Linked DNA regions of Homo sapiens: region 1 is linked to region 2. The links are contacts of gene promoters, found by promoter capture Hi-C in human tissues and cell types (Jung and others, 2019). All regions are on one chromosome and are shown on one strand. Each heading gives the region's core, a stretch centred on a gene start or on the middle of the fragment in contact. The rest is flanking DNA. Distances are from core to core; before and after follow the strand shown.

Evidence for each region. The method cuts DNA at HindIII sites, captures the fragments that hold promoters and counts their contacts. A contact is called where the count stands out against the background at its distance.
Region 1: a fragment that was not itself captured here is called in contact with the fragment with the promoter of POU5F1B in region 2 in 1 of the 25 tissues and cell types used here (small bowel).

The regions. Positions count from the first base shown.
Region 1 is chr8:127,691,165-127,693,864 of GRCh38, reverse strand. No RefSeq gene overlaps it. Among named protein-coding and RNA genes, the nearest start is that of CASC11, 41 kb to the left of the region's middle. The HindIII fragment of the contact is 9,197 bases long and covers 1-2,700 here.
Region 2 is chr8:127,414,501-127,417,200 of GRCh38, reverse strand. It overlaps POU5F1B (POU class 5 homeobox 1B), which reads right to left and starts at 1,334. Exons shown (of 1, transcript NM_001159542.3): 1 at 255-1,334. The coding sequence starts at 1,334. The coding sequence ends at 255. All of the region lies in intron 5 of CASC8 (cancer susceptibility 8), which reads left to right. The HindIII fragment of the contact is 11,415 bases long and covers 1-2,700 here.

The sequences.
Region 1 (2,700 bases), core at 94-2,593, 280 kb before region 2:
AGGGTGGAGAGATGGGCTGTCTCATCCATGGGATGGTGCCTGGAAGTTACCTCACTTCCATTTATATCCCTTTGGACAAACCTGAGTTTGTATTTACACCTTGCCGCCAGAAAGGCTGGAAAATTGGGATTTTATTATTGGAAGAAGGGGGACAAGTAGCAGCTTCTGCCTCAGTGGAAAGTCTGGTGCAAAGATAGCGGTCGTAACCTGGAAGTCTTCATGGGCACTCACTGTGTGCCAACCACATGTATTACAGAACTGCTTTTATTATAATATTTTCACAGTCACCCTATGAGATGGGCACTATTAGCGGCATGCCCATTGTACTGATGAGGAGGCCCGAGGGCAGAGCCTGGATTTGACCCCTGGCAAGCCAGCTTTACAGGCTACACAGCTAACCACCACCATGCTGTATGGAGGGTTCCAGAATGGATAAACACAGTTTTCACTAATGGATTTGCTATTTACTAACCCTGTGGCTTTGGGTAAGCTATTTTTCCTCACAAGTTCTTAGTGTTCCCATGACAGAGGGACGTATGTATCAAATGAAATAAAAACATGGGATGGCTGTTTGTCAACTGGAAAAAGTTAGAAGGAAGACTGACTATGATTTCTTTCAGTGACCATGGGACTCTGATTTCCAATGGCAGTGGAGAGAGAGAAGCTGTGACTACCTGACTGCCAGCCTCCACAAGACAACGTTGTGTGCGTGAAATGCTCTTTTTTACAGTGACCCTCGGGACTCAGCCCCCAGCCCACAGCCCCCATTCTTTCACTGCCTCCTATTTCTGTGAGGTTATAACCACGCCTATAGAATCACTTTGCCTTTCTATATTACTCAGCTGGAATAATACGGCAGATGAGGGCAACAGAAAGGAAAAAAAGATATGGAAGTTTGCTAAATAGAGAAGATCTGCTACTTCACTAGGAAAAGCTGGATCCTGAAGAGGATTAAGGTAGAATTTCTCACTAAATCTTGCCGCATGACGGTCAGCCACTTCTCTCCCTCTCTTCTGTCTCTATTTTTTATTTATTTATTTATTTTTTGAGATAGAATTTCACTCTGTCACCTAGGCTGGAGTGCAGTGGTGTGGTCTTGGCTCACTGCAGCCTCTGCCTCCCAGCTTCAAGCAATTCTCATGCCTCAGCCTCCAGAGTAGCTGGGATTACAGGCATGCGCCACAAAGCCCGTCTAATTTTTGTATTGTTGGTAGAGACAGGGTTTCATCGTGTTGGCCAGGCTGGTCTTGAACTCCTCGGCTCCCACCTTGGCCTCCCAAAGTTCTGGCGTGAGCCATTGCACCAGGCCAGCCACTTCTCTTAGGAATGACTAAAAAGCCTTTGTTATTCTTTGTCCATAACAGACGCAGGACTCAAGTCCACCAGTGCTAGACTGAAGTGGGTGTCTCAAAGCATGGTGCAGGAATGTCTCTGAGTCCAGTGCCGGGAGCACTGGGGGCTCAAGGAGTAATTGCAGTGAATGAACGAGCAGCTTTTGGCTTGTGTGGCCAAAAGGTTTTTCTACAGCAGCTGCTAAAGTGGTTGTGCATGGAGCCGTCTCTGCAAACTGGGTCAACAGGTCAATTGGGCCTTTTATATGCCAACCAGGGCTGCCTGTATTTACGTTGACGGTCAGATGTAGGGCAGAAAATGATGCCGGCAAAGGAAATCCATTTAGAACTTTTCTCTGCTGATGCTGACTACATGGAGAAGCAGTTCATTATTTATAGACCACACAATTGTGTTTTGTACAGTAACCTTATTTGGGCATATAAATAAGCCAAGGATAAGAGAGGAGAACAAAAATGCATTGATTTCTTTTTCTTCTTATATGAAAGGTAGATGAAGCAGTTTTATATTTGAGGTTTCCTGGCTGGCATATTACCCAGACAGCAGGAATTAGAACAGATTTAATCTTCCAATCCATACTAATGGGGGCATTAAAAACACTGTTTATTAAATTTATCTTTTTGACACTTTTAATATATTCCATTGCAGCCTTGCAGCATAAGTGCTGGATAATGATAATGTTCAGCATTTATTGAATGCTTGTCATGATTGTGCCAGACACTGTGGTAAGTAACACACATTGTCTCATCCTATCCTTACCACACAAGTGTGAAGAGACACCTATTTCAATTCCCATTTTACCGATGAGACACTTGAGGCAAAAAAAAAGTACAACAATTTGCTGAAACCCATTTAGCTCATGAGTAAGGAAGCTTCTTGGGGATTGACGTCAAGTTTCTTCTGTGAGTTTCTGCACTTGATGGTCACACGCTATTGAATGATGGGGATACCTGCAGCTGTGGGGCAGGGAAGTTCTTTCATGTTCTGGAAGTGGCAGGTGACAGAAGCAAAGGGAGCTAATCCTCGAAGTTTGCTTACTGCATGCTGAGCAAAGGGCTAAATCTTTTTCCTACAGAGTCTTCTTTTAAATTCAGAACAAGGTTCACCTACTTCTGGGCATCCCCAGAACCTTCTGTCTAAACCAAAAGAGAATCTTGAATTTTCTTAATTTACACTTTTAAATAATTTGGCAGTTTCCTGACATCTATTCTCAAGGGGTGGGGCACCAATGAATTAGTTGGTTCATTCATTCATTTACATCAGCCTTCTTTTTTTTTTTTTTTAGACAGAGTCTTGCTCTGTCGCCGAGGCTGGAGCTGGAGTGCAGTGGTGCGGTGATGTCAGTTCACC
Region 2 (2,700 bases), core at 85-2,584:
TTTTTTACTGTGTCCCAGGCTTCTTTATTTAAGAAAAAAGTGATACATGATGTGGGATTAAAATCAAGAGCATCATTGAACTTCACCTTCCCTCCAACCAGTTGCCCCAAACTCCCCTGCCCCCACCCTTAGTGTTCCCAATTCCTTCCTTAGTGAATGAAGAACTTAATCCCAAAAGCCCTGCCACAAACTCCAGGTTCTCTTTCCCTAGCTCCTCCCCTCCCCTGTTCCCCATTCCTAGAAGGGCAGGCACCTCAGTTTGAATGCATGGGAGAGCCCAGAGTGATGACGGAGACTGGGGGAAAGACTTCCCCCTCAGGGAAAGGGACTGAGGAGTACAGTGCAGTGAAGTGAGGGCTCCCATAGCCTGGGGTACCAAAATGGGGCCCTGGGGCCGGAGGAAAGGACACTGGTCCCCCTGAGAAAGGAGACCCAGCAGCCTCAAAATCCTCTCGTTGTGCATAGTCGCTGCTTGATCGCTTGCCCTTCTGGCGCCGGTTACAGAACCACACTCGGACCACATCCTTCTCGAGCCCAAGCTGCTGGGCGATGTGGCTGATCTGCAGTGTGGGTTTCGGGCACTGCAGGAACAAATTCTCCAGGTTGCCTCTCACTCGGTTCTCGATACTGGTTCGCTTTCTCTTTCGGGCCTGCATGAGGGTTTCTGCTTTGCATATCTCCTGAAGATTTTCATTGTTGTCAGCTTCCTCCACCCACTTCTGCAGCAAGGGCCGCAGCTTACACATGTTCTTGAAGCTAAGCTGCAGAGCCTCAAAGCGGCAGATGGTCTTTTGGCTGAACACCTTCCCAAATAGAACCCCCAGGATGAGCCCCACATCGGCCTGTGTATATCCCAGGGTGATCCTCTTCTGCTTCAGGAGCTTGGCAAATTGCTCGAGTTCTTTCTGCAGAGCTTTGATGTCCTGGGACTTCTCCGGGTTTTGCTCTAGCTTCTCCTTCTCCAGCTTCACGGCACCAGGGGGGACGGTGCAGGGTTCCGGGGAGGCCCCATTGGAGTTGCTCTCCACCCCGACTCCTGCTTCGCTCTCAGGCTGAGAGGTCTCCAAGCCGCCTTGGGGCACTAGCCCCACTCCAACCTGAGGCCCACAGTACGCCATCCCCCCACATAACTCATACGGCGGGGGGCAAGGGGGAATCCCCCACACCTCAGAGCCTGGCCCAACCCCCGGCCCGATTCCTGGCCCTCCAGGAGGGCCTTGGAAGCTTAGCCAGGTCAGAGGATCAACCCAGCCCGGCTCCGCCCCCCATGGCCCATCACCCCCACCGCCTGGAGGGGGCGAGAAGGCGAAATCCGAAGCCAGGTGTCCCGCCATGGGGAAGGAAGGCGCCCCAAGCCGGGGGCCTGGTGAAATGAGCAATTATGTTACTTTTCATTGAAAGCTCTGTGACCGTATGGCTGTGTGTGTCATACGCTCACTAGCAATGAACACAGTGCCTGAAGCATCATTAAATGTTGACTGAATGTGTTAGGAACTCTTCAAAAGTAATCTCTTTAAATCATAATCACCTGTGAATTGACAATTATTATCTTCACTTTGTGGATAAGAATGCCAAGATTTGGAAATGTTGAATAATGTGTCCATTGTGTCAGTGGCCGATCTGAAATTCCAGTGTAGGCACCATGATTCCTGAGTCCATTCTGCTTCTGCCATACCATGATGCTAGATTCTTCATGGGAGCCATCTACTTGTGTTCTGTGCTATGGAATGGTGTGTCCTTCTTTCTGATTCTTATTTCCTGCAGATTGTGGGGAAACGGTTCTACCATTAACAACCAAAGGCAAAATGGGCTGCAACCAAAGAAATTCCCTGACCTAATTCTTTATAGTTGGTGACAAGTGTGCTGTAGTGACGGGAAATAGCACTCTATGAAGATTTAATAGTGCAAATTCTACCCTCCTGACAACCCCTTTCTTCAGCACTGGATGGGTGTATTAGTTGTTTATCATTGTGTAATAGATCACCTCAAAACTTAATAGCTTAAAAACAACTAACACATAGCTCACAGTTTTGTAAAATAGCAATTGTGGTGTGGCTTAACTGGGTATCCTGGATAAGGGTATTTCATGAGGTTGTGGTCAAGATGAGAGCAGGGGATGTTGTCATCTGGGAGCCTAACGGGGGCTGGAGGATCCACTTTCCAAAATGTCTCACTTACTTGGCTGTTGGCAAAGGCCCCGGTTTCTTGTTGGCTGTTGGTAGGAGGCCTCAGTTGCTCACCATGTGGGCTTTTCCATAAAGCTGCTTGAGTGTCCTCACAACATGTCAGCTGGATTCACCCAGAGAGAATGACCTAAGAAAGAGAGAGCAGGGAAGAAGCCACTGCGTTCTTTATGACCTAGTCTCTGAAATCGCACACTTTTACTTGTGCCATATTTTATTCATTAGAAGTGAGTCACATTCTGTAGGAGGGTAATTAGCCTTCACCATTTGGCAGGAGGACTATCAAATAATTGGTGGGCATATTGTAAAGCTATCATAATGGTTCTGGTAGGCCATGTTTTTGCCTCTGCCACTCAAATATTGGATGTCCATTTCTTAAAGGGATTGTGAAAAGAGAAGGGGCTTTAGAATAAGACAGGCAAATGTTTAAACATTGAGTAAATTTTTAATGTCCTTAACCCTTGTTTCTCAACCATAAAATGAGAATGATCATATCAAATCTTCACAGTTTTGCAGG